Regions from separate parts of the Homo sapiens genome. Here regions 2, 3, 4, 5 and 6 are each linked to region 1. Evidence: promoter capture Hi-C in 16 types of primary human blood cells and fetal thymus (Javierre and others, 2016). All regions are on one chromosome and are shown on one strand. The core of a region is centred on a gene start or on the middle of the fragment in contact, and the rest is flanking DNA. Distances in the headings are between cores, read along the strand shown.

The links. The method cuts DNA at HindIII sites, captures the fragments that hold promoters and counts their contacts. A CHiCAGO score of 5 or more calls a contact.
Region 2: a fragment that was not itself captured here is called in contact with the fragment with the promoter of SPCS3 in region 1 in 2 of 17 cell types (total CD4 T cells and naive CD8 T cells); the score reaches 8.1 in total CD4 T cells.
Region 3: a fragment that was not itself captured here is called in contact with the fragment with the promoter of SPCS3 in region 1 in 8 of 17 cell types (total CD8 T cells, non-activated CD4 T cells, naive B cells and 5 more); the score reaches 12.8 in total CD8 T cells.
Region 4: a contact is called between a fragment that was not itself captured here and the fragment with the promoter of SPCS3 in region 1, in 1 of 17 cell types (non-activated CD4 T cells). The highest score is 5.6, in non-activated CD4 T cells.
Region 5: a contact is called between a fragment that was not itself captured here and the fragment with the promoter of SPCS3 in region 1, in 1 of 17 cell types (neutrophils). The highest score is 10.3, in neutrophils.
Region 6: a fragment that was not itself captured here is called in contact with the fragment with the promoter of SPCS3 in region 1 in 2 of 17 cell types (neutrophils and total CD8 T cells); the score reaches 8.1 in neutrophils.

The regions. Positions count from the first base shown.
Region 1 is chr4:176,318,646-176,321,459 of GRCh38, forward strand. SPCS3 (signal peptidase complex subunit 3) reads left to right here and starts at 1,321. Exons shown (of 5, transcript NM_021928.4): 1 at 1,321-1,574. The coding sequence starts at 1,432. SPCS3-AS1 (SPCS3 antisense RNA 1) reads right to left here and starts at 1,865. Exons shown (of 4, transcript NR_186171.1): 1 at 1,500-1,865. RefSeq lists an enhancer at 1,132-1,632 and silencers at 1,615-1,734, 1,855-1,924, 1,955-2,034. The HindIII fragment of the contact is 6,231 bases long and covers 260-2,814 here.
Region 2 is chr4:174,268,589-174,271,623 of GRCh38, forward strand. All of the region lies in intron 1 of FBXO8 (F-box protein 8), which reads right to left. Among named protein-coding and RNA genes, the nearest start is that of FBXO8, 14 kb to the right of the region's middle. The HindIII fragment of the contact is 2,196 bases long and covers 499-2,694 here.
Region 3 is chr4:174,286,780-174,289,812 of GRCh38, forward strand. All of the region lies in intron 1 of CEP44 (centrosomal protein 44), which reads left to right. Among named protein-coding and RNA genes, the nearest start is that of CEP44, 4.4 kb to the left of the region's middle. The HindIII fragment of the contact is 1,373 bases long and covers 687-2,059 here.
Region 4 is chr4:174,211,621-174,214,578 of GRCh38, forward strand. The region is part of intron 1 of LINC02268 (long intergenic non-protein coding RNA 2268); the gene reads right to left. Among named protein-coding and RNA genes, the nearest start is that of LINC02268, 7.3 kb to the right of the region's middle. RefSeq lists enhancers at 2,686-2,745, 2,856-2,958. The HindIII fragment of the contact is 4,679 bases long and covers 1-2,958 here.
Region 5 is chr4:173,342,521-173,345,648 of GRCh38, forward strand. No RefSeq gene overlaps it. Among named protein-coding and RNA genes, the nearest start is that of HMGB2, 9.7 kb to the left of the region's middle. The HindIII fragment of the contact is 3,910 bases long and covers 1-3,128 here.
Region 6 is chr4:173,324,371-173,327,560 of GRCh38, forward strand. No RefSeq gene overlaps it. Among named protein-coding and RNA genes, the nearest start is that of HMGB2, 8.4 kb to the right of the region's middle. The HindIII fragment of the contact is 5,987 bases long and covers 1-3,190 here.

The sequences.
Region 1 (2,814 bases), core at 71-2,570:
TTTCTTTTTTTGTTAACAAACTGTGCCAGCCTGGAAGTTAAAAACTAAGATTTTAAACGCAACTAAGGATCTCTCTTTAGTCTCTATTTTATCGATTTTTCATTAGTTGGCTCTATTTGAGCAGGGAGTCTGCCTTATTAGTGCTGTATTCTCAAGGCTTAGAACTATTCCTGGTACACGGTAGGCACTTGGTAATAATCCTACCTGTATGGCTATACAAAAATTAATTGAATGGTCATGAATAATGCAAAGAAGCAAAAGCTTAACAAGAGACAACATAAGCCAGTATCAAGATCAGATGTTCACAGTTTTCTGGTTTGTTCCTGATCACATTCCAGGACAGATATTTTTGTTTGGTTTATGGACTGAAATTTTTAAAAAAAATTTATTTCAGCAGACCCTGAATCCATTTTTATAAAAACCCTTAGCTGTGAAAGGAACAAAGGTTTTGGCAGATAGTATAATCAGAGTCAGGATTGGCTCGGTTTGAACCCTAATGCCCTTCAGGATATTGAAAATGTGATAAAATAATTGCATTATTTATTAATGACCCAACGAAATTCTTATACATTATGCTGTAGAGCAATTCCGCAGCCATTATCTTCTTTGCTCCTAAGAACCCAGAAAGGTTATCCTTTTATTTATCAGAAATCACCATGTTAAAATGCAAATACTTAGGATCGGTAGCCTCAACCCTTATCTTCTAAAACATCTTTAGCTATCCATACAAAGCAAAGCATTAATAGGAATTGGACTGACGTTGGAGGTGGAAATACTGATGCACGTGACAGCTTTAAGGACTTGGGCGGCTAATTCCCCACTCCCCACTGCTCCTCAGATCCTCCAAAAAAAGCTCAAGTCCTAACTTTGACCAGGTTTGACAAAGAAGGGAGAGGACCAGGCGTTTTGTAAAGTGCTGCTTCCAAACGCCACCCGTCAGGACAGATTCTAAACCACCTTAACTTGCTGCCGGTTTCAAGTGAAAATAAATGGTACATAAGTAATCAAGAAGTCGCAGTCCCAGACCTCTGACCAAAGAACCGAAAAAGGACAGCGAACGACCGGTTCCCAATTCTCTGAACCCAAAGGTCGGAGAAGCAATTTAGAAGAGGAGGGGGTGGGTCTTCCACAACAAACCCCGCCCCTCCCTCACTCGTCGCTGATTGGTGGCGGCGTTAGGCCGCGACGGAGGGGCGGGCCCGCGGCTGAGTCTCTCCCTTTCCGCGCCGCCCCGTGCGCGCTGTGGGTGTGTTTCGGGAAGCGGGCGCGCGCGCGCTCGCGTCGGAGGACCGGAAAGGAGGCGGGGCTGCGGCGGCGCGCGCTCCCGGAACGCGCGCACCGCAGACGGCGCGGATCGCAGGGAGCCGGTCCGCCGCCGGAACGGGAGCCTGGGTGTGCGTGTGGAGTCCGGACTCGTGGGAGACGATCGCGATGAACACGGTGCTGTCGCGGGCGAACTCACTGTTCGCCTTCTCGCTGAGCGTGATGGCGGCGCTCACCTTCGGCTGCTTCATCACCACCGCCTTCAAAGACAGGAGCGTCCCGGTGCGGCTGCACGTCTCGCGGATCATGCTGTGAGTGAGGCCGGGCCGGCGGTGCAGGACGCCGGGACCGGGCTGGGGCGGAAGCCGAAGCCGGGCCGCCGCGCCGGGGCTGCCGTGCCGGGGCCGCGGGCAGGGCGTCCGGATCGCCCTCCTGAGCGGCAGTTCGCCCCCGAGGGCGGTCGTCAGGGGTGGACGTCGCAGGCTTTTCCGGCGTCCCCTCGGAACTTGCACCCCTCCACCGTAAATTCCCGGGCTTGCTCTTAAATTTTAATTTTGAGCGTTCCTCAGGTCGGTGCCTCCGCTTGCTTCCTGTTCCTCACTTCCCTCCACCCACGCCTGGCCAATGAGGGAGCAACACAACAGCAGAGCCGGCGCCGCCGCCCGCCTGGGCTGGCGCCTCCCGCGCGTCCGGTGCCGCTCGTGGTCCGCATGCGAGGCCCTCCAGGCGCTGCCGCCGCGCTCTGGGTCGGGCTTCCGTGGGGTTTCCTGGCGGCTCTGGAGGCCACAGGACGGGGTTGTCTTTGTGTCATTCATCACCCGAGTTTGCCCTGTTTGACATTCCCTTTACAGTTGTTGCCTTTGCACCTTCAGAAGGCAGTAAACAGTTGGAGCTGCTTTGAAGTTGGCCAGAGATGTTGGGCACTGAGAGAATTAAGCATCTTAGCCTTCTGATACAGCGAGATTTTTGTTTTGTTGGGTTTCTTTATTTCTTTTTCTTTTGCCAACCACTTGAAGAAGTCTGCGAAAACGCCAAAAAATGCAGTTCGAAATGACAGTGCCATTTCGCTATTGCCTATTTTGTCCTTGATTTTATTCTCTGGCACTTTTGTCTTTAATCGTCGTATTTTTCCATCTCTTGTTCTCATACCCTTCTACTCTATTTCCGTCTTACACAAGTTCTTTAACCTTAGTTTATTTCTTTGTCAGAATCGCCAAGAAGCCAGTTATCAAATAGCGAGCCTTCTCCCCCCACCTTTTTTTTTTTTTTTTAAATTACTGTACTGATGTTTGTTAGATATTGTTCGAATAGACCTGGGGTGGACATCAGCACTGCCATTGTCAGCCCTGTGAGGGTTAGAAGAGCTTGGTGCATATTAAACACTGAACAGATGTTAGCTGTTGTTGTCTTGAGCAAGTTTTCTTACCATTCTGGGCCTTAATTTCTTTTTGTTTAAGATGGAAGTAATACCTAATTTTTAGGTTGTGAGAATTATTTGAAATGTGAAAAATATTGTCAGTGGGTCTGAGCCGTAGTAAACAGTAAATAGCA
Region 2 (3,035 bases), core at 347-2,846, 2.0 Mb before region 1:
CCACGCCCGGCTAATTTTTTGTATTTTTTAGTAGAGACGGGGTTTCACCGTGTTAGCCAGGATGGTCTCCATCTCCTGACCTCGTGATCCGCCCGCCTTGGCCTCCCAAAGTGCTGGGATTACAGGCGTGAGCCACCGCGCCCGGCCGGGGGCCGTTTTAAACACTAAAATCACCAAGAAAAAGCATGTGGGAAATGTGGCATTAAATAAGCCACAAAAAGGACACTTGTTTATAATGACAGCTAAGATAAGAAGGCAGAGCCTTGCCTTCAACTTCAGCTGCGAATGTGCACCTTGAACAACAGTTTTTTCAGCTCTTGCGCATGTTTGCTAAAGGCGGCAGAAGCACCAGGCGTACTCCTTTGGGAGATACAAATAAATGTTAGTGAGTAGGTAAATTCACAAATACAAAATTATAAATAATGAAGATCAACTGTAATTAATACAATTCAAGGTGTCCCATGCCTTTTCTTCCAAATTTGAATTTATTTTGTTCAAAGCTTCTTTATCATGTTGAGAGGATCTATAGAATTCTTTCTAAGGAGCTTCGAAATGAAACCAAACATGTTTTTTCTTGGTCTACAAACACAGAAACATAACTTCATTATTTATCATCTGACAGAAGTAAACAAAAATTTCATAATTACTTAGGTCACAGAGAGAAATTATGCTACAAAAAAATTCTCCATAAGATTTCAAAGTTGAAACTCTTCCTTTCCAAGGAAATAAAAACAAAAAAAAAAATGGGGGAAAAAACCCCAAAGCAATCGCAACTGTACATTTTCTCCTTATTTTTCAGAATGGTAATAAAATGCGGCCAGGAGTGGTGGCTCATGCCTGTAATCTCAGCACTTTGGGAGGCCGAGGCGGGCAGATCACTTGAGGTCAGGAGTTCCAGACTGGCCTGTCCAACATGGCGAACCTCGTCTCCACTAAAAATACACAAATTAGCCTGGCATTGTGGTGCACGCCCGTAATCCCAGCTACTGGGAAGGCTGAGGCAGGAGAATCACTTGAACCCGGGAGGCAGAGGTTGCACCGAGCCGAGAATGTGGCACTCCAGCCTGGGCAACAGAGTGAGACTCGTCTCAAAAAAAAAAAAAAAGAATGGTAATAAAATGAATACTTACAACTGAAGATTTAGATACTATTTAGTAAACTTAAATTGATAATTTCCAGAGAATGATTAGCACAAAATAGAATAAATCAGAACTCCTTTATAAATTGGATGAAGCATCAAATGAAGCAACAGCCAAATAGGCAAACGAATATGATCCCAGAATTTCTACTCCCTGAAATTATGCAAATATAACTATCAATTAATTATAACCATTTTAATACAGCAGTCAACTAATGCTCCTTGTGTCTCAGAGCTATTATATACTGTTTTGGTTTAAGGATAAAATATTCATGTTCAATTCTGTACTACCTGCAAATACACTCAGGGAGCATGGTAGTAAACAGGAAACTTAGAAGCCTGACATGAATGGCTACTGAATGGCTACTGAATGTGGACTGGCAACCAAACTGTGCGACCTTGAACACTCAGTGGTATTGTGTATAAACATGCCACATTAGCCGAGACAGAGCTATTTTATTAAATTAATCTCATGTATAAGAATTTCATATTTTGGTTTATTATCATAGCTTACATTTCAAACTTAACTTTCTGTTCCTAAAGTCCTATGCTGCTGTGGCACAGTAGCTGGGAAGACGTAAATGGAAAGTAACATGATTTTAGGAAGAGTCCAGCATTATTAAAAAATAATGCCTTTGAGAGGTATTTATCTAGAAGACTGCATAAAGTTTCCTACTTAGCTAAAGGTCCTTTTATAGAGCAAACAGCCACTATCACCCCTATATGATCTGTTGTCCTCCCACCTGCTAACATTTCAGTAAAGTTATATCTAGGATTACTAAACATATATGGTGTTTTTCTTTCTACAAAAGCTCTTTTGGTATTACATAGCTTAAATTTAATATGCTAAACTTCAAGATCATTTTTATTCATGCTCATGTCTTAGGAATAGTATTTTTTTTTTTTTTTGAGATTTAGTCTTGTCTTGTTCCCCAGCTGCAGTGCAATGGCGCGATCTCGGCTCACTGCAACCTCCACCTCCCAGGTTCAAGTGATTCTCCTGTCTCAGCCTCCCGAGTGCTGGGATTACAGGCACCTGCCACCACGCCTGGCTAATTTTTGTATTTTTAGTAGAGACGGAGTTTCACCATGTTGGCCAGGATGGTCTACGAACTCCTCACCTCAGGTGATCCGCCCGCCTCGGCTTCTCAGGAATAGGTTTTAAACTAATATTGGGATAAGTATAAATGGCAGGGTATCATCTCATGACCATGATTTGCAATTTGTAAGATATCAATTGGACAGGAAACAGAAGAAACAATTTTTGGACTCACTTTTGAAACAATCTTTTATGGAACTTTTTTGGAAAAAAATCTCAACCTTGGTTGTATTCTTGTAAGATGGAGCACATATATTTATCACCTCTCTCTCCCATAAAATGACAGAGAAAAAAAAGGTAGAAACTACAACTAAAAGAAAATGAAAACAGGACATTCATGAACATGAGATTTCAACATATTTCTGCAACATGAAAAGTAGAAGGAGGAGTGGCTACTAATGAAGCCATGTAGAGAAAGACAGAGGATAGTCTGCAATCGTATGGAGAGGGAAGCAGAAGCTTATGTACCTTGCAGAAACCTCAAGAGGCTTGGGAGTCCAAAACATAGGACAAGGAAGAGAGAAATTCAGAGTCAAATGAGCAAAACAATGAGGATATTAACATCTCTGGGTCACTGTTTCCTTCCCTACACAATAAGAATAAAAATGTCCCCCTTGTATGATTTTTATGAGAATTAAATGAAATAATGTGCATATGTATATGTAACAATGGACCACAACCTCTCCCCTCAACACACATACATCACATATCTAGAATGCTTAGGTATGTACCCCAACCCCTTTCCCTCACTCAGGCAAAATGAAGAAGCATTTTTGCTAAAGAAATTGAATGACATTA
Region 3 (3,033 bases), core at 123-2,622, 2.0 Mb before region 1:
GAATCATTTTGTTTAAAGTCTCAGTTCGTTCAAATCTTTTGGTTCACGTATGTGTTTTTCTGTTGTGTACATTCTTCAGAGTCATATTCCTGTTTCATAGGCCCCATGTATGTCAGCTTTTAGTAGGTATCACCAGTAAGTTTTCCAAAATAATTGTACCATTTACTCTTTCTGTAAAAAGCATAGATATTTTGAATTTCTTGCCTTTTTTTCTGTGTTCACCTTTTCTTCTTGGAAGTAGACAGCTGGCTAACCAGCAGGAGTTTGGGACCGATGACAGTGCAAAACATCTTGACTGACAATGGTGGTGGCTTATTAAAGTGAAGAATCAGCATCAAGAGGGGGAATCGGTGTATTCCTTCTATTTCTAGGCCATTGGGATATAGGTCGTTATGGGACCCCAGGTAGTAACCCAGCTCATTCTGAAATAGAGCTGAGAAATGACAAGGATTAAGTGTTGCTTTTCAGGTAGAGTGCTATTTTGGACCCTTGGCACAGATTTTGGTTCTTTATTATGATAAGTACCAAGAAGGAAAAGAACTGGGTCTATTAGAGAAAATTAATGAGGGGGATTAATTAGTTTGGGATCTAAGACTTATTTGAGGTGGTGACATTTAAGCAGGATGCCGAGGGGTATTAGCCAGATGGAGAATGGGAGAGGGAAGGAGTTGCTCTGTATCTCTTCAAGCTTGAAGAAATGGCATGTGCAAAGGTGTTGAACAGCTTGAGATATCACCAAACATCCTTATCCAGGTCCAGGAACTTTATCCCAGATACCATTTCTGTTATTTGTTGCTTTCTATAATATTTTAAATTAACTAAATCACACACATTCTCTTTTTCATCATTACTTGGTAAGTGGAATGTTTTGATTTTCCCTTCTGGTTATGATTTACATGTATTAACTTATTAATACACGAAGATCAAAAAGTGACCAAAATTGTTCAAAAGGTACAATTTATTATAGGATAATTATAATTATTTCATGCTGACAATATGTTTATAAGTGTTTTGCAGTAACCTTTTTGTTTCTATAATTTCATGGTAAGAAAGAAAATGAATTAGGTAGAGCTAGTAATACCAGGTATAGACAAGAATGTAGTATTTAAAGCTAATATCTGAAATTCTCTTCTTGCATCTGCTAACTGAACGAGAAAATTCTGTGTGTGAGAATGGAAAACTTTGGGTGAAAAGTGAAAACTTGGATTTTGTAGTCCAGGCCCTTAATTAAGTAGATAACACACTCAGAAGGAGAAAATTTGGGGTGCTTTATATACAAAGGGACTATTTTTAGAGGTGTGTGTACAGGGATCTGGTGCTGCTTCATTTTTTAACCTGTTTATTGCGGTATGATTGACATACAGAAAGCTATAGACATTTAATGTATACAGTTTCTGTTTGGAGATAAGTAGATATTGTGAAACCATCCAACCATTATTACTACAAGAAATCAATGCCATCACCTTGAAAAGTTTCCTTCTACTCATCTTTTTTTCACGTTTTGTGATAAGAGCACTTAACATTAGATCTAACTTCTTAGCAAAATTTTAAGAATACAATATTGCTAATCACAGACACTGGGTTGTACCTGCAGATCTTATTTATTTTGCCTAACTGAAACTTTGTACCCTTTGAACAACAGCTTCCCATTTTGTTCTCCCCATGTTCCCTTACAACCACCATTCTATTCTCTGCTTGCATGTATTTGACTATTTTAGATTTCACATACATTGAGATAATACAGTATTTGTCTTTTTGTGTTTAGCTTATTTCACTTAGCATAATGTCCTTCAGGTTCATCCATGTTGTTGCAAATGGCAGGATTTCCTTCTTTTTTAAAGGCAAATTTGTTTATTCTCACATTTTTGTTGGGGTCCCTAAGGTTTTCTACATCTAAGATCATGTCATCTGCAAACAGATATTGTACCTCTTCTCTTTTTATTTGGATGTTTTTAATTTATTTTTCTTACCTAGTTATTCTGGCTAGGACTTAAAATACTACGCTGAATAGGAGAGGCTAAAGTAGGCAACCTTGCCTTGTTCCTCATCTTATGGGGAAAGCTTTCAGTTTTTTATCTTTAAGTATCTTAGCTGTGGGCTTCTCATAAATGGACTTTATTTTGTTTTTCCTTTACCTAATTTGCTATAAGGTTCTTCCATACCTAGTTTATTGGGAGTTTTTATCACAAAAGAGTATCGAATTTTGTCAAGTGCTTTTTCTGCATCTGTGCAGATGCCCATGTGAGTTTTATCCTTCATTCTATTAATGCAGTATATTACATTGGTTGGTTGTCATATGTTGAACCATCCTTGCATCACAATGAAAAATCCTACTTGGTCATGGTATATGATTCTTTTAATGTGCTGTTGTGTTTGGTTTGCTAACATTTCATTGAGGATTTTTACGTCTATATTCATCAAATGTATTAGACTGTAGTTTTCTTGTAGTGTATTTGTCTGGCTTTGGTATCAGGGTGATGCAGGCCTCAGAATGACTTTGGAAGTGTTCCCTCTTCTTTTTTTTTTTTTTTTAGATATGTTTAATAAGGTTTTGTATTAATTTTTCTTTAAATGTTTGCTAGAATGTATCTGGCTCTTGGCTTTTCTTTGTTGGGAATTTTTTGATTATTCCATCAATCTCCTTTTTTGTTATTTGTCTATTCAAGCATTCTATTTCTTCTTGATTCAGTCTTGGTAAGTTATATTTTTCTAGGAATTTACCCATTTTTTTTTAGATTGTCCAATTTGATGGCATATAATTGTTCATAATAGTCCCTTATGATACTTTTTATATCTGTGGGATCAATTGTGTCCTCTTTCATTTCTGATTTTGTTTGAGTCTTCTATTTTTAAAGTCTAGCCAAGGATTTGTTGATTTAGTTTGTCTTTTCAAAAGAGGAACTTTTAGTTTTGTCAATTTTTAAAATTGTTTTTCAATTTTCTATTTCATTTATTTCTAATCTAATCTTTATTATTTTCTTCCTTCTGCTAATTTTGGATTTAGTTTGTTCTTTTTCTAGTTCCTTGAGGTGT
Region 4 (2,958 bases), core at 123-2,622, 2.1 Mb before region 1:
TAGGCACCACCTCTCAGGGAAGTGACCACCACTACGCTCTCAGCTCCGCAAGTCGCTGGACAGTCAATAGCGCTCACACGGTGTCTACCGGATCTGGCACGGTCAAGACACAGGAACAGCCGTACTTTCCTGCGGGTAAGAGGCTTTTCTTTTGTGCATCACGTGCAGAAGAAGCCACTCCGAAGTGCAAACACCTTTCTAAAGTTTTCAGTGCTTCCTAAAATGCAGACATCGACGCCTTGCTGAGTTATCCGATCCTTTGATGATCAAATAAAATTAAGGCCAGCTCCCTGCTGTTTGATCTGTGGCTCAGTTTCTCTAAGGGCTGCCGCGGGTTCCGCAAAGACTCACTCCAGAATCCCCAGCTCCCTCGCGTCAGCGAATGTCCCGCTGGTCCAGGCAGCCTTTTCCTGCGCGGTTCTTCAGTTCCTTTTTCTAAAGCTCTATTTATACAAATTACTTTTTTCTTCTTTTCATTAAGCAATCAGGATTTATTTTCTTTTCTCTCTGTATCAGCCATGGACACATTCACTGATGAAGAACCAATCAACGTTTTGTGTTCTTATTTATTTTTATTTCTGATGAGGCAGGTTCCAATCAAAGAGCAAAGTCAGAGAAAATAATCAAACAGCTCGCGGTGGCCGCTTTGCCTTTGTTTTTATTCTAGTTTTCTTTGGTGGGTCATTTTTAATTCTCTTCTTTGTTAAGGGGTAGTTAAATCTGTATCTTTGTGCTCAGCAAGAGTGGCCCGTGTAGTTAAGAAGGCCCAGAGAGCTTCCTTGCCCCAGTGTTCAATGGGCAGCTTCCCTTCTCACTGAGGAGGAGACTTTCAGTGGAGAAAGAGAAATGGAAAAACTTTCCAGCAAAATCAGTCAATGCATGGAGAAACCTGCCTTTCAGGAGCTGCTAATTCTTTCCCAGGCAACTCCTACTCCCCTAGAGAGGAGGAGGAGAATGAGACCTCAGGTAAGTAAAAGATCCAAGCTCAGTGCTGATGGAGTGAGAAAAATCCCTCTCTCAGTGAGGGACAGAACCTGCTTTTTGTCTTGAAGTCGGCATTGTGTTACTGAAGATGTGGGGGCCAAGATTATTTTCAGGACACTAAAAATCTGAAATTGTTGACTTCATAAGTTGAACAATGACCAACACCAGTTGAGAATGGCCTGGAGTACCCTTCATCTTACCCCCCACCCCAGCAATGAAAATAGCCTCTGTGAGCACAAAGGTGTGGAGAGTGCTATCTGCTATTAAGCACATCAATTACATTGTGGAAAGGCTATGACTTAAACTACACATAATGAAGATACTTCTTAGGTGACACAGAGAAAAGTTTTGACCAGATGATTGGCGTTGTTCCTTACGTTTCTGTTAAAAATCACATCCTCTCAGCTCCCAGCCCAAAGTGAGTCCTAATGTTAACCTGAGACTCCTTCTAGAGTGGAAGCTCTAGGAAAGGGTCTGTGTGTGTGTGTGTGTGTGTGTGTGTATGCGCACATGTGTGTCTTTAAACTGTTGTGTGCATGTGTGTCTTTAAACTGTGTCCCCAGTGTCTAAAACAGTAGGCATCAAGTAAATATTTGTGAATTGAATGACAGAACATTAGAAGCAACACTACCATCCCCACTGCACCCCACCCACCCACCCCGGTGAAAAATGGAATTTCCCAGCCAAGATTAGTGAAAGAAGGAAAAGACAGGGGTTAAAGTGCTCTTTGCCAGAGTTTTGGGAAGAATTGGCCACCTGGTAAAATAAGTACTGACCCAACGACATCTTCGCCTACTCTTTATAATAAAGGGAAGTAAAATCACAGGTAAATAAGATGGGGGCGTTGCCGCAGAGAGTGCTTCTGAGGGTCCTTCTCTGGGATCTTGGAAAGAAGATATCCTGGAACAGGGGGCTCAGTTGGAAGGTGGCATACACATTAGCTTTCTAAAATTAAATCTATAAACACAAAACTGCAGAACTTTCAAACTACTGTGTAAGTAAAGGAAGTCTCTCCACTGAAAGCTCAGCTGGCTGTTAAGTGGGTTTTAGAAACAGCTCTAGTAAGCGAACCTATCTGCGATTTTCGGGTTTCCATTCCTATTCGACTTCCCTCCTCTGGGTCCTTACCGAAAGGGAAGGTCCCAAAGGACCACCAGCGCGCTCTCGGAGGCTCCAGGACTAGACATTGGACTCCCACAGCGCAACACCATAGGGACTCCGGTGTTCGGTTCCCGTGGCCCTCTCCTTGGCTCCCGGTCACCGTCCTCACACCCCCTGGCCCCAGTTACTGACGGAAGCCATGTGCAGCTGCCATAATGTGTATAAAAGAATCTCTCCCTGGCGTTGGTTTCTTCTCTTCTTGGAATGCTTTTGGCAGATCCTCCGCGTTTTCCGGGTCTCTTGGGAGTCTGAACATGCATTTTCCTTTATTTCAGACAGGATTCCGAGTGTTAACTAGATTGTGCCCTCCCCACTACCTATCCTGCCCATCTTCCTTCTCAGCCGTCGGGTGCGGGAGGAACGCCCTTGCCAACCTCAGCCTTTTTGATCTTCCGCGGGCAGAGACTCATCAGAGCCAGGAGGACTGTAACTACCCCCGGGGCGTGTACCGCCGAAGCCTGAAGAGGCTGGTTGGGCCAAAATAGCAGTCGCTGCAGGCACCAGTTTCAGCCCGTCACCTGAGTGCCGGTTCCTGTGGGCGCGCCAGTCTCGCAGGCAGCGCGCCCAAGCTCGCGGATCGCCCTCTCACATTTTTAGAAGCCAAGAAAAGCACTTTTGAAATTCACTCCTTCGACCGTGGGCAGAGGAGCAGGTGGGCGCCGAGCCCTAGCTGAGGGTGGGGGGTCGCGGAGGAGAGGAACTGGAAAATGGGAAATAGGTGTCTGCTGACCTAGAGTTCTTCGGCTTTGATTTTAAGCGGCAGTGAGGCTGGGTGGTTTCGCCCCCCTCATCCCCTCGGTCGCTGGCGCAGAT
Region 5 (3,128 bases), core at 137-2,636, 3.0 Mb before region 1:
AGCCACCGCGCCCAGCCTGTAGTTCTTGAATTGTAATAGAAATGTTCATTTGGCCCATATTCAGATGAATATCTGTCACTTTCATATTAGGAAATCATCCTTTTGTAAATTTTTGAGACTGACTCTCACTTTGTTGCCCAGGCTGGAGTGCAGTGGCACAATCTCAGCTCACTGCAGCCTCCGCCTCCCAGGTTCAAGTGATTCTCCTTCCTCAGCCTCCCAAGCAGCTGGGATTACAGGCATGCGCCACAATGCCCGGCTGATTTTTGTATTTTTGGTAAAGTGGGGTTTCACCATGTTGGCCAGGCTGACCTCAAGTGATTCACCTGCCTTGGCCTCCCAAAGTGCTAGGATTACGAGTGTGAGCCATCATGCCCTGCTGAAAATAACTTTTTATCTGCTTTTGTGTAGGTGATATATTAATACTATATTGACCTTATATCAACTCAATGATTGATAACGACTTAAAACTGCAAATTCTTGTGTAAATACTCTTATAAATATAAAGGTGGCATATTTACAACTTTGTCCTCTAAATCGTGTTGTTACTGTGCTTAGTATTTTGACTGTATTTAAAAATATATTCACAAACTATGAAATTTTCAGATATACTTTTCAAAATATACATCTAATTTTAAAGCCTGGAATTCTAATTAGACTGAAAAAATGCACTTACGCATAATTGAGGATTATGCATCCTTCACCCTATTCGGGCCACTCCTGGAGTCAGGGTAGTAGAGCACAGCATTGCAGAGGCCGGAGCCAGAAGAAAAGCAAAAATGCCTTCCATCCTCTTGGCCTTGAATCTCCCATTAACAGAACTGAACCGGAAAGAAATTGGCAAGTGAATCTGGGAAATGATATTTAGAATTCCAGTACTCTGTAATATAGAGAGAGTAAAAGAATGAGAATGGAACTGACAGACAACAGAAATATAACCAGCACAGTCAAACAACTGGCAAGTGGCAGAGTTTATATCTCAAGCAGTCTAGCTCCTGAGTCCATGCACTTAACTACTACAGTATGCAGTGACACTATGATATGCTATAGCAACATTATTTCATACATTTTAAAATTAATGGCTGATGATGAATGCAAGTTGGCAGGAAAGAAATTGTAGGAATTGGATTCATTAAATATTCCAGAAAGATTAAGTTTCTACGTTGTGCCGGACACTACTCGAAATAGAATGATGCAAAACCAAAATGAAACAAGGATGAAGGAAGAGAGTTCCTTTCTCAGTATTTCAGACTGGACAAAATTTCCCTGTGAAGGATTCCAACTGGCTTGATTTGAATCGTGTGCCCCCCTCATTAAGCCAGGCACTTTCAGGGCAGGTATTAGGGGAAATAACCTAGTGGAAATGCTCAATAGAAACCTGAGACAAGGATTTTGTTGCAAATAGTTTATCTAAGAGATGCAGGAAACACCAGTAGGAGGTGGGGAAGCGAGACAAAGAAGGGAAAACAGTCAATAAAGGGTGCGGTATCAAGCCAGATACCACTTATAATGACTGGAGCATAATCCCATGAGAAAACTCTGGGAAAACACAGGCCTCAAAGTTATCCCATCTGAAGGCCAAGTGAGCTGGGGTATCTATATAACAAATCTTTCCAGTCACTTGGTGAAGGCTGCTAGAGTGGGAGTTTGTTAATTCCCAGGCATTTCCAAATTGCCCTGATCACATAGGGACAGAGCTGCCTTCCACAGCTTTGGAGAAAGCCCTCAGGTCAAGAAATCAATGTTGAAGTGGTAATGGCCAGAGAGACAAGAGCAGGGTCTGTCTCAACTTCTTCATCAGGTAAAAATTTTATCTGCCTAATGCATGGAGTTATAAATTTCAAAAGAAAGAACGCCTATGAGAGAGTGTTATAAAATATAAAATGTAATACCAAAAATTATTGTTTAGGAGTTTCTTGAAGGCAGGAGGTGCATATCATGTTTTTACATCTCTCCTAAGGCCTAGTACAGTGCTATGCATATGCATAGGCTCAAATATTTATTGGATGAATTTTTCAATGTAATGATTATTAAATATTCATTAAATATTTTCTAGGTTAATAGGTGTTTTTAAACTTATAATTCATATCAATAACTCATTACTGTTAACTTCTAAAAACCTTTATGTTTGAAAACTATAAAGTAGCATGGTCTTGTTCTATACCTTTGTCTAAAATTCTTAAATCTAGGTTGTTGTTCAGAACTCTGTTAATTACCCAAAACCCATTTTCTCCTTTCTTCTTACTTTAAAAAATATCTTGATTATAAAAAAGGTAATGATAAATTATTGCGGGTTCAAACCAATCATGAGAAAGCTATTCTCAGTAGCATAAGAGAAAGGCAAGAAAATTGTAGACATCAACCCGGACATTATTGAACTACTGAACCATTACCAGTAACCATCTTCTCTCAGTCTTCTTATATGTCAGAAAAATAAACTCATAATAATACTGTTAGATAGATATTCTATTATATGCAGCCATTGGCTAATAACTTTTTTAATAGCATTTTTTTCTTCTTTTGCGTAGCAAGCCCAAGACAAGTCATTTATTTCTGGACTAGATTATTTCATTATAGTAACTCATCAGAAAACTGAGATAAGCAGTAAGTATTTGGCCATTCACATTTTAACTATTTTGGATTCCCCTCTAACTAAAGAAAGATCACGGTTTTTTCCTACAGCTCTCTACCTGTGCTGGCTCCATCAATATTCAGTTTGACATTTTGACACATATCTAAAGAAGCTCAAGAGGGCTCTATCACCAAGAAAGCTGTAGTGAGATGATAGTCTTTCAGATACAAGTTAAAGTCGCTTGTCCAGTTATGTATGTGATCTTCTGCAGAGCCACTTTGCTTACTCAAAAAAACACATCTCCTGTTCTCTCACCAGAATATATTTTGAAACCATCCACTTATCTCCATCTCTACTATCATCACACAAGCTCAAGCCACAATAGACTCTGAACTGGTCTACCTGATTCCAGGGACTTTTGACTTTAACATTGGATCCTCCACAGAATAGCCAGAGTGATCTCAAAACATGAAACAGGTTAATCCACTTTCCAGCATAAAATCTTTCAATGGCCTCCAATTCCACATAAAATGTAATACATTATCATTGCATACAA
Region 6 (3,190 bases), core at 671-3,170, 3.0 Mb before region 1:
AGTGGAGAAAAATGAAGAGAAGGGAAGCCTACCACAATGAAATTAGAAATAGTCCATAGCACCTTGTACAAAACACATCTCAAGAGAAGATACGGTTGCTAACAGATTCAAGTAAGTGGCTGTATTGATTTGGGAAACTTTCTCTCAACTGACCTGTCTATTGTCATATCTCCCAATTCTTAGCTGCTGTAGAAGTAGGCTAAGAAATTTGAAAAAGTGACAGCACCAGACTAGAATAAATGGGAGTTTCTTTATTTCTTAAGTTTCTCATAGGGATCTTGGAATATATTTCATTTCTGGACATAATTGGGAAAAAAATCCATATATAATTCAATGGAAAACATGACAAGTACCTCACCAGAAAGCCAGATACCTAATAGGCCAATAGTTTAGGTACGTGAAAATTATTCCATGTGAAAGCACTTTAAGAAGTGTTGAGCATTATGAAACTGTGATGTGATAAGTGCATCTTGAAGAATATCTAAGATATTGTATCCTTCAAATTACCTTTAAATGAAATTTCTCTTGGGCTTTTGGTTTGAGCAAATAAACCACAGCTGTATTAAGAATTAACTAACCGAAACAAAACTAAATATTTGAATAGAAAATAGGGATGAATAGACTTCCACTTCCGGCTATAATTTTAAGTGGACTTATCTTGCTACCCCAAACAACAGTTAATGCTGGACAAAATATATGAAGCAACTGTTTTCAGGAATTGGATACTAGTCAAAGCAGACTGATATCTAAAAGAAAGGAAATACACAAGGTGAATCCCAGGTTCACCATGTCTGTCTCCATGGGAGGACATTCCCAACCATGGTGCAAGGAATGCGGCTCAGAATGGTGGTATTGCTGAACTGAGGAGGCGGAGTGGAGGTTTCCGGCTGCTGAAACAGCTAGAATCTACAATCCAGGTTATTGGAGGGGAAGTACGCTTGAGTGTCAGGAGAGCTATACAGGAATTTTTATACCACAGCCATTTGCAATAGCGAAAACCCTGGAAGCAACCTAAATGCCCATTGACAGGAGAAAGGATGAATTGTGATATAATCACACAATGGAATATTACAGAGATGAATATGAATAAACTAGTTGTTATAAACAAGTTTTAGGTGTACAGGATTGAATGAAAAAGGCACTTCCCAAAACACTTTATTCAGCACTTTTTATCAATCTCAAAAGTGACTAAAAGTAAACATACAGTATGTTAATACATTTATACATGATAGGTTAAATAACTTGTCCAAGTTCACAAATTTAGTACTGGGGTCAAGGACATAATCAAGTCCAGTACTCAATATCCCTCTAACTCTGTGGGATGAATATTTATTTGGTGCCAGGAAAAACTCTCCTAAAGAATGTATGTTTTCCACATAACTTCTTTAATTTTCCTCTCTACCTAGACTATCAAGAACCTCAGGGCTGGAACAGTGGCTCACACCTGTAATCGCAGCACTTTGGGAGGCCAAGGGGAGAGGACTGCTTGAGTCCAGGAGTTTAAGACCTGCCTGGGCAACATAGCCATGTGTGGTGGCACACATCTGTGGTCCCAGCTGCTTGAGAGGCTGAGGCAGAAGAATCGCTTGAGTCTGGAAGGTGAAGGCTGCAGTGAGCTAGAACTTTATCTAATACTCCATCGTAGTATCTGTATTAACCCATGTATATCGGCATATATACTTTTAGCTAATATTTATCGAGCATTTACTATTTCTTGCCACCAGGATAAGTGTCTTAAATGTATTACTTTACTTAATCCTCAAAAACATTCAAATTTTACAGATGAGGAAACCGAAATGTTACATGAGTTGTCTGATGTTACAAAACCAGTAAGAAAAACAGAGCCCTATTCAAATCCGTGATTCACTACCTTGCTTTTAATTTCTTTCATAACCTTGTTTTTTTCTTTGTATATTTTGTTCTTGTTTTTCTTTGTATAAGCCATTAATATTTTTTGGAAAAAATTTGGAGAATCAAAGAATTACACAAATATGAATGGATTATGGTATTTTACTATCTCTTATCTGCCCGAGGACAATGTCCAAGTTGATTGTCCTGCTTTTCTAATGAAAGACTAGATGATATAAAGGCCATTTCCAGTTCCAAAATTTAGTGCTACATAATGCTGAAAAGTTATTTTTCTTTCCTTTTAATGCGACAGTCTATTGCACTCCTGAGTTACTATTCTATAGATGTGGTAACACCTAGGATGAGGATCACCAGAAGTCTGCACTGTTAACTCTTGAAGAATAAAGGCCCAGGAGCACAATGAAGTTCAATTGAAACATTTTTATTTACCTTTGCTGCAGGGTAAGTTGAGTTTCCAATCAGGGCAAGAAGGGTTTCTGACCTATAAAAACAATGGTTAGCTGTAAGGCATATATAAACTTTTATTAACCTTGGACCTGACTCAAGTAAAAATTATTACACTTATATTTACTATTTAATTTATAGAAGTGGCAAACTGGTGACCTTTGGGCAGAATCTTACCTATAGACATGTTTTGACCCCAAAATTGGAATTCATTGCCAATACTGTATTTAAAATTCAGAATTCACGAGTTCTAGTTCCACTTGAAAATTTGAGAGATCTGGGAATCCTATATTCACATTTCCATCTAGCAACAGGACTGAGCTAAACAGTGGCTATCCCCTTTAACCTGGGTATTTGTATATTTACAAACATGCTTAGAACACTGTTTCTTGCATTAGAGACAAAGCAGTATACAAAAGTGAAAATTTTACTGCCCTCACAGAGCTTACTTTCAAAATGTTCTTCACTTCACCACATCCAGTCCTTTTCCCTGGCTAGTCTCTATAGGTCTTGGCATTTCCTAATGTCAATAAATACTCTGCCTTTCTCTAAAACTGTCAGTCTCCAACAGGAATCTCATGAAGAACTAATCCAAACATGGTGAGGTATGAAATTTCATTTTTAAAGGACTAGATCTTACACAGTGGCATAGCAGCTCCTTTAGCTTTCTTGATTTTATTCCCCAAGAAATAAAATCATTACTGCTTTGTAAAGCATTTTTAGTGATATATTTAGTAATAAAAAGCCAGGTTTAAGATAATGCTATTTTTCTACTATGTAAGACAACCTTATGATTTACAGTAAGTGAAACTGGTAAAAGGTAAAATACAAAAAAAGCATACTTTCCTCTATTGATCAAGTTTGCAGTGAGTGCTTT